Linked DNA regions of Homo sapiens: all the other regions are linked to region 3. Evidence: promoter capture Hi-C in 16 types of primary human blood cells and fetal thymus (Javierre and others, 2016). All regions are on one chromosome and are shown on one strand. Each heading gives the region's core, a stretch centred on a gene start or on the middle of the fragment in contact. The rest is flanking DNA. Distances are from core to core; before and after follow the strand shown.

The links. Contacts are between HindIII fragments. The CHiCAGO score rates a contact against its expected background, and 5 or more counts as called.
Region 1: a contact is called between the fragment with the promoter of PTGES3 here and the fragment with the promoter of RPL41 in region 3, in 1 of 17 cell types (erythroblasts). The highest score is 5.3, in erythroblasts.
Region 2: a contact is called between a fragment that was not itself captured here and the fragment with the promoter of RPL41 in region 3, in 1 of 17 cell types (neutrophils). The highest score is 5.6, in neutrophils.

The regions. Positions count from the first base shown.
Region 1 is chr12:56,686,623-56,689,729 of GRCh38, reverse strand. PTGES3 (prostaglandin E synthase 3) reads left to right here and starts at 1,446. Exons shown (of 8, transcript NM_006601.7): 1 at 1,446-1,732. The coding sequence starts at 1,731. RefSeq lists enhancers at 510-559, 1,036-1,561, 2,060-2,179, 2,290-2,339 and a silencer at 1,210-1,399. The HindIII fragment of the contact is 8,036 bases long and covers 1-2,969 here.
Region 2 is chr12:57,073,850-57,076,879 of GRCh38, reverse strand. All of the region lies in intron 1 of NEMP1 (nuclear envelope integral membrane protein 1), which reads left to right. Among named protein-coding and RNA genes, the nearest start is that of NEMP1, 3.4 kb to the left of the region's middle. The HindIII fragment of the contact is 8,733 bases long and covers 1-3,030 here.
Region 3 is chr12:56,115,296-56,118,147 of GRCh38, reverse strand. It overlaps RPL41 (ribosomal protein L41), which reads right to left and starts at 1,515. Exons shown (of 3, transcript NM_001035267.2): 1 at 1,349-1,515; 2 at 937-959; 3 at 181-666. The coding sequence starts at 1,360. The coding sequence ends at 624. RefSeq lists a silencer at 158-207 and an enhancer at 1,874-1,923. The HindIII fragment of the contact is 11,197 bases long and covers 1,329-2,852 here.

The sequences.
Region 1 (3,107 bases), core at 197-2,696, 570 kb before region 3:
CCGGCTGATTTTTTTTTATTTTTAGTAGAGACGGGGTTTCACCATGTTAGCCAGGATGGGCTCAATCTCCTGACCTCGTGATCTGCCCGCCTCTGCCTCCCGAAGTGCTGGGATTACAGGCGTGAGCCACCGCGCCCGGCCCCTTCCCTTTTTTTTTTTTTTTTTGACACAGGGTCTCACTCTGTCGCCCAAGTTGGAGTGCTCACTGCAACCTCCGCCTCCCGGGTTCGGGGTTCGAGCTATCCTCCCGCCTCATACTAGCTAGTATTTGGCATTACAGGCAAGTGCCACCACGCCCTGCTAATTAGTATTTTTAGTAGAGATGGGGTTTCACCATGTTGGGTGGGCTGGTCCTGAACTCCTGACCTCAGGTGATCCGCCCACCGAACTTCCCAAAGTACTGGGATTATAGGCGTGAGCCACGGGCGCCCCGCCCAATTTCCCTTTTTAATGGCATTTGAGCTAGGGTCCAGGTTTCGTAGCTCCCACTACCTGTCCTGCACAACACAGACACTAAATACCTTAGTGCTTATTATGAAGCCCCGTTCTTCAGAAAGGTTTTATAGCACTTTCGTTAAACCTCCTTCCTGTTCAAAATGCAGCGCACTAGAGTATTTTTCCCCAATCCACCGTTAAGCGGCTTCTTCTTAAGCAGGACTGTTTTGGGTCTCTTGGTTGCTACCCCTACTACACCCTACTAATATGTTGCACAAAGCGACGGGGAACCCCTTCTCCCCCAAACGATGTGCGTGGAAACACACAATGTCCTACTCTCTCCATTCCCAGAAACCTAGACTCTCCCCTCAAATACCTTTCCTGGCTCATCTACAGCACTAAGGTCTCAAGGTAGGGGCAAAAGCCCGCCCCAATTGGCAAATGCTCCTCCTCCGCCAAGAACCTCGAATTTCCGCTGTCCCTGGACAGAGCCTCCAACCTTCAGAAAAATGGCGAGGTGGACCCAGGCCCTTGATTCTGAAGTGAGCCCTTTTCCACAGCACAGGCTTTTTACAGGTTTTTGTGGTGGAATGATGACTCAGTGAGCTGATTTACTCCCTCAAGAGTAACCAACGCGCCATTTCAGTTCTCCAGGATCCCGACTCCGTGTCCCTCCGCCTCAGCCTTGCCTCCCACTGTCAACGCAACCGTTTCTCAGAGAAATCGCCGAAGGCGCATGGCAGGGCAGTTGGGCCACTAACGGTTTTCTAACGCGAGAAGACAGAGCGGGAGGAGAGGCGGGAACGCGTAGGGACTAGCAGGGGGCGGAGTGGGGGTGGGGTGGCGGACGAAGGGCGGGGCCGGCGCCAGGAAGGATCGCGAAGGAGCTGGGAGGCCCCGCCCTTTCCGTAGATATCTCTAGAAAGCCGCGCCGGAGCCCAAAAACAAGGACTGCGCACGCGCGGCGGCAAGGCCCGGGCATTTTGCTGCGTCACCAGCCGCCGCCCGGCCTCACCACCCCTCGTTTGCACGCACGCACGTTCATTCTCCGTCCTCGCGCCCCTTTTCCTACACTTTCCTCTTCTCCCCGACCGGAGGAGCCGCTCTTTCCGCGCGGTGCATTCTGGGGCCCGAGGTCGAGCCCGCCGCTGCCGCCGTCGCCTGAGGGAAGCGAGAAGAGGCCGCGACCGGAGAGAAAAAGCGGAGTCGCCACCGGAGAGAAGTCGACTCCCTAGCAGCAGCCGCCGCCAGAGAGGCCCGCCCACCAGTTCGCCCGTCCCCCTGCCCCGTTCACAATGTGAGTGCGACACCCCGCCGAGGGAAGGTCGCCGAGTGAGGCCGAGGCCGCGTTGGGGGCTCCCTGGAAGCGGCCCCCTAGCCTTTCTCGCATCGGTGGTGGCAGTCGTTCCTGCCTGGGGGCGGGAGGTCCAGGATCCTTGTTCCGGTTACCGTTGGCGGGTGGAGGACATTTTTCCTCCAGATGTCTGCTTCCCCCACCCCTGAACCGTTCCTTGGCTTCCCCATGCCGGAAATCCTACTTTTACCCCTTTGGCTGTCTGGGTTACTCGCCTCTTTCGGTAACTTCACCCTAGGCCTTAAGCTCCCGGTAGCTGCTCGCCATGCGGCGCCCTGAAGCGTGAACCTTCGTGGGTCGCCTCTCGGCTGCTTGGGCGCTCCGGTTCTGTTGCTTTGTGGTCCCGGGGCCAGGCCCTGAGTCGAGTGCACCTGTGGTGGGTGCCGCCAGGTGCCTGGCGGAGCTCCTGGGAGAGCCCCACGCGGACCTCGCCGTGAGCTGCAGGTACTGCTAGGCAACTAGAAGGAAGCCATGCCCACGCCGCAACATACTTCCCTCTCCAGTGTCTGGGTTTCTTGAGTGTGGGTACTTCCAGTCCGCCTCCTAACTCCAGTCTCTTGAAAACACGGGAGGTTGCCAAAACTCAGCCGCTTCCCTGGCAGCGAGGAGGAGTTACCATTGAGCAGGTAGTTCCGCACGTGTCGACTTTGGAAAGATACGGACATTTTCTGTGTTTCATGTTCTACTTGAGGTGAGGTTTCACTATCTTGTTACAGTGTAGGATGAAATAGGTATGTAGTAGGCATTTAATTAACCTACAGTCGTCCCAAAGATCTTAAATTTGTGTGGAGGTGAATACAGATTCTATGGCAGTCTTCATTTTACGATGATAAAGGAAAGCCTTGGCGATTTTAACCGGTAAGAATTCTTGGCACTGCCGCGTACAGTGGGAACTGCCGGTTTTACAGGGTTTTTTTTTTTTTTTTTTTTTTTTTGACGGGAGGTTATTTTTCAAGGTACTAACTACGTCCTAAAAGGTATGGAGAACAATTAAGGTGGAACCTTTTTTTTCTTTTGTTTTAGACTCCATTCAGAAGAGAGAAGAGGGGAGTGACTTTATGTCTTTGGAAAAGTAATAAGGATTTGCTTGATTCAAGTCATGATACTGAGGCTGAGTATATTGGCTAGAAATCTAAAGGGATGCGTGAGGCTGAAGCGAGTTTATCACTGGGAACAAGCTTCTAGAGCACAGCATGTTAGAATTTTTGAAGGAGCCCCCTCCCCGAAAGTGATACGTAATCGGGGTTTTAAAAAATTTGAATTAGGCTGGGCGCGGTGGCTCACAACTGTGATCCCAGCACTCTGAGAGGCCGAGGCG
Region 2 (3,030 bases), core at 247-2,746, 960 kb before region 3:
TTCTCCCATCTCAGCCTCCCAAGTAGCTGGGACTACAGGCATGTGCCACCACACTCGGCTAATTTTTTTTTTTTTGAGACAGAGTTTCGCCCTCGTTGCCTAGGCTGGAGTGCAATGGCACTATCTAGGCTCACTGCAACCTCAGCCTCCAGAGTTCAAGCACTTCTCCCTCTGCCTCCCGAGTAGCTGGGATTATAGGCGCATGCCACCATGCCTGGCTAACTTTTTGTATTTTTTGTACAGACGGGGTTTCACCAGGCTGGCCAGGCTGGTCTCAAACTCCTGACCTCGTGATCTGCCCACCTCAGCCTCCCAAAGTGCTGGGATTACAGGCGTGAGCCACCACGCCCAGCCACACTCAGCTAATTTTGTATTTTTAGTAGAGATGGGGTTTCACCATGTTGGCTAGGTTGGTCTCGAACTCCTGACCTCAGGTGTTCCGCCCGCCTCAGCCTACCAAAGTACTGGGATTACAGGCGTGAGCCACCATGCCTGGCCTTCATTTATTATTTTTTAGTGACGTGGTTTTGCTGTGACACCCAGGCTAGAGTGCAGTGCACAATCATAGCTCACTGTAACTTCCCACCTCGGTCTCCCCAAGTAGCTGGGACTACAGGCACGTGCCATCTGCCTGGTAAAAATCATTATTAATGTTGTGGATTAAACATTTGGTTGGATATTGGTGGTTTGTACTGTTGGTTGGATATTTGTGGTATTTCTAGTTTTTCATTGTTGTAAGTTTGTGAACATCTTTGTGTATACATTTTTATTTATTTATTTATTTATTTTTTTGAGATGGAGTCTTGCTCTGTTGCCCAGGCTGGAGTGCAGTGGTGCCATCTCGGCCACCTAGGTTCAAGCGATTCTCCTACCTCACCCTCCCGAGTAGCTGGGATTACAGGTGTGTGCCACCATGCCCGGGTAATTTTTTTGTATTTTTAGTAGAGTGGGATTTCGCCATGTTGGCCAGGCTGGTCTCAAACTCCTGACCTCAAGTGATCTGCCCGCCTCAGCCTCCCAAAGTGCTGGGATTACAGGTGTGTGCCACCATGCCCGGGTAATTTTTTTGTATTTTTAGTAGAGTGGGATTTCGCCATGTTGGCCAGGCTGGTCTCAAACTCCTGACCTCAAATGATCTGCCCGCCTCAGCCTCCCAAAGTGCTGGGATTACAGGTGTGAGCCACCGTGCCTGGCCTTATTTTTTTTTCTTTTTTTTTTTGTAGAGATGGGGTTTCATCATGTTGGCCAGGCTGGTCTCAAACTCCTGAGGTCAGGCAATCCCCTCACCTTGGCTTCCCAAAGTCCTGGGACTACAGGCGTGAGCCACCACGCCTGGGCCCAACTATTTATTTATTTATTTATTTATTTATTTATTTATTGATATTGAGATGGAGTCTTGCTCTGTCGCCCAGGCCGGAGTGCAGTGGTGTGATCTTGGCTCCCAACTATTTATTTATTTATTTATTTATTTATTTATTTATTTATTTATATTGAAATGGAGTCTTGCTCTGTCGCCCAGGCTGGAGTGCAGTGGTGTGATCTTGGCTCACTGCAAGCTCCACTTCCCGGGTTCATGCCATTCTCCTGCCTCAGCCTCCCAAGTAGCTGGGACTACAGGCGCCCGCCACCGTACCCAGCTAATTTTTTTTGTGCTTTTAGTAGAGATGGGGTTTCACCTTGTTAGCCAGGATGGTTTCAATCTGCTGACCTGGTGATCCACCTGCCTCGGCCTCCCAAAGTGGTGGGATTACAGGTGTGAGCCACGGCGCCCAGCCCCTTATTTATTTTTTTGAGACGTAGTCTTGCTCTGTCACCCAGGCTGGAGTGCAGAGGCGCGATCTCGGCTCACTGCAGTCTCCCCTCCCAGGTTCAAGCGATTCTTCTGCCTCAGCCTCCCAAGAAGCTGCGATTACAGGTGCCCGCCACCATGCCCAGCTGATTTTTTTGTATTTGTAGTAGAGACGGGGTTTCACCATGTTGGCCAGGCTGGTTTTGAACTCCTGACCTCAAGTGATCCGTCTGCCTTGGCCTCCCCAAGTGCTGGGATTTCAGGTGTGAGCCACCATGCCCGGCTGGACAGTGGTCACTTTTAAATCTTGAATTAGCTGATATTAAATACAAATTGAGAGGAGAATCTTCTGTTTTGGTAAATCAGAGGGACTGCATGTAATCATTGCCTGCTGTTAAAATTTGAAGTGACACAAAACAGCTGGAAGGAAACAACCTTGAAATCTTTTAGTATCCTCCAAAAGTACTATATATTAAAAATATTGCTGGCTGGGCGTGGTGGCTTACGCCTGTAATCCCAGCACTTTGGGAGGCTGAGGTGGGTGGATCAGTTGAGGCCAGGAGTTCTAGATCAGTCTGGCCAACATGGTGAAACCCCATCTCTACTACAAAAATACACACACACAAAAAAAGTTAGCCAATTGAGTTGGCTCATGCCTGTAATGCCAGCTACTCAGGAGGCTGAGGTGGGAGAATCGCTGGAACCTGGGAGGCAGAGGTTGCAGTGAGCCAAGATCGCACCACTGTATTCCAGCCTGGGTGACAGAGTGAGACCCTGTCTGAAAAAAAAAAAAAAAAATGCTGGCTGGGCATGGTGGCAGATCTGTAATCCCAGTGCTTTGGGAGGTCAGCGTGGGTGCTTTGGGAGGCCAATGTGGGAGGATTGCTTTAGGCCAGGAGTTCAAGACCAGCCTGGGCAACATAGTAAGACCTTGTCTCTTTAAAAAAAAAAAAAACTAGCTGGGTGTGGTGGTGTATACCTGTAGTCCTGGCTACTTGGGAGGCTGAAGTGGGAGGATTGTTTGAGCCCAAGAGTTTGAGGCTGCAATGAGCTATGATCACATTACTGTACTCCAGCCTGAGCAGCAGAGCCAGACCCTGTCTCAAAAAAAAAATAAAAAAATAAAATAAAAAACCTGCCAATTCTGTTCTACTCAGGAAAGGGATAGAGAAAATCAACAGATGGAGTAGTTTAGCTTACTTTATTCCTTTATAGGACAGGAAGTATATCTAGTGTTTAAG
Region 3 (2,852 bases), core at 266-2,765:
TTCCCAGCACGCTTTGCGTGTCACTATGGCAACCCAACCCAAAGGCACGACATGGTCTAAGCGGTAGTCGCCAAGGCAGCCCTCCTGGAAAGGGGCGGTACCAGCATTGGCCCCTAATAACCCGCGAAACCTAAAACCTGCCTCCAGAGACGTACCATATCCCATCCAACTCCAGCGAGATGCAAACCACACCACGTAACCCGGGCTGTTGCCTTTATAGCTTTGATACCCTCCATAGCACAGGTAGTGACAGGGCAAACTCTAATGACAGAAAACCCCCACCCGATGGAACCATAAAAAACATAATAGACAAGATGATTTAATTCTTCAGCTAAAACAGCGGAAGAGGTGATTTATTATATGGTTGTTACACTCGGCCACAAATAAACACAGAAATAGTCCAGAATGTCACAGGTCCAGGGCAGAGGACCAACATGGGCATTTTGTTTATGAGCAAGGTGGGTCTCAGAGGTGATCGGCGATCAGAGGGCGATGAAGTTCTAGATCCATTGAGACAAGCTCTAGACAGTAGCATGCAGTCCCACAACTTGTACCAGCATCCCCAGCGTCTGGCATTCCATGTTTCTGCTCCTGTGGCCTCCACGGTGCAACAAGCTAGCGGTTTACTTGGACCTCTGCCTCATCTTTCTTCTTTTGCGCTTCAGCCTGAAAAGCAGACACAGGAATGGAATACACCTCAAACCAGAGTTGCCTTTCCCTCCCACATTAAATCAAACGTCCACATAAAGAATGAGGTGGTAAAATGAACAAGCACTACGGTTCTATCGTTCTCTGTTCTGTTAAATCCTGGCTCCAGGGAGAAAACACTCAAACGTTTTTCTCCTAAAGATCTTTTAAGATTTCCAAACCAAATGTTTCTCCTAAGTTTTGTCCAAGGAACTTCCCTCCTCCTGGGCTGGCAAAGTCTCAACGTACCTGCGCATTCGCTTCTTCCTCCACTAGCAACCGATCACAAGCAGCAGATAATTAAAAAAAAAAAAAAAAAAAAGGGATGAAGCTTATTAGTAGGCTTAGCAAGGATATGAAATGCACTCTTTAGAACCGGACAGATTCTTAACCAAGAAGTATGAAAGATTGGTCGTAACAACTACATCAGTAACTTGGACACCCTCCCAACATAAGATCAGAATTCCACCCTTTTCTAAGCCCACCCTCTCTACCCATAGCACTTAACCGCTAGCTCTCTCACAAACTACCTTCTCTCTCCCACCAGCTCTTGGGCACCCTTGAAACCCAGTAGTTCAGGAGGTATGGCGGACTTGCCTTCGTCTCCTCGCTACTACTCGCCAACTCCTACCTCCCAAGCTTACTACCAGGAACCGCTCACCTTGGCTCTCATGGCGCAGAGGTTTCTACAGGGAAAGAGAGAAAGGCTACAGTTAGTTTGCTGTGATGATGCTAAGTGCCGAGGTCAGATGTCTATGGATTGTACACGGAATCCCAACGCAGGAACCAAAAAACACTCACCCAAAAAAATGGCGCTAAGGCCGAGAGAAAGGCGAAGTTCCGTCTACGGCTATTTAATGGAGCGCCGGGTGTCGTCACTTCCGCTTTCACGCCCTTTGCCCCCCCCAAGGGCGGGGCTACCCAATGGGCGTAACAGTGGTTTTCGGACCCTCTTGTAGAAGGGTAGGTTGAGTTAGTTCTTTCGGAAGACCGAGTATTTGGTTTTCGAGTTACCAGTTCCCCCCCAGATTTAGTATGAGGACGCTGTGTTATTTAAACGTCAGCACCTATTTCCAATATTGGACCTAGAGGTGCAGACGGGGAAAAAATAGTGACCGCCACCTTCCCTCGCATTGCTTCTTGGGAGTTGCAGTTCCCTGGAGAAGTCCTCCATTTTGCTATGGATAGGCGCGGACTGTACAGAAATTCTTGTTTTACTGGTTTGCCTTCTTTTCTTTCTTTCTTTCTTTCTTTCTTTCTTTCTTTCTTTCTTTCTTTCTTTCTTTCTTTCTTTTCTTTCTTTCTTTCTTTTTTTCTTTTTTGAGACAGGATCTCACTGTGTCACCCAGGCTGGAGTGCAGTGACGCGATCTCGGCTCACCGCAATTTCCGCCTCCTGAATACAAGCGATTCTCCCGCCTCAGCTTCCCGAGCAGCTGGGACAACAGGCGCGCGCCACTTGGCTAATTTTTGTATTTTTAGTAGAGACGAGGTTTCGCTGTGTTGCCCAGGCTGGTCTCGAACTCCTGAGCTCAAGCGATCCGCCCGCCTCGGCCTCTCAAAGTGCTGGGATTACAAGCATGAACCACCGCGCCCAGCCGGTTTGCCTTATTTTCTAAAATAAATTGCTGCAGGGTGATTCGATTCCGGAACCATCGAAGGTCCTAAGATTTCAGAACATAGGAAGATATAAAGTGGGGATTCGGGAAAGCTGCCATACTTCAAAAAATATTTTCTCACTGTTTAAGATAGAGCAATTATTTTTCCTAAATTTCAAGAATAAAATAGCTGATTATGGTCTTCCCCCACGATGCCCGAAGCAAAATATCACTAGAGATTCCTGGCTACAATGCATCATTTGTTCAGAAAATACGTCAGCGGGCTGGGCACGGTGGCTCATGCCTGTAATCCCAGCGCTTTGGGAGGCTGAGGTGGGGGAATCTCGAGCCCAGGAAGTCGAGGCTGCAGTGACCTATGCAGTGATTCTCTAGGGGTGAAGAGCGAACCAACGGACATAGGGAGAAAATTACCTAAATCTAGGGAAAGTATGACATTTGGTGTTAAGATAAAGAACTTCCCAGTTTGATTGTATGCTCAGGTGAGAAGCACTGGAAAACAACCAGATCCCCTAAGATTTGGCTACAGGAAACTTTTGAGTTAATGGGG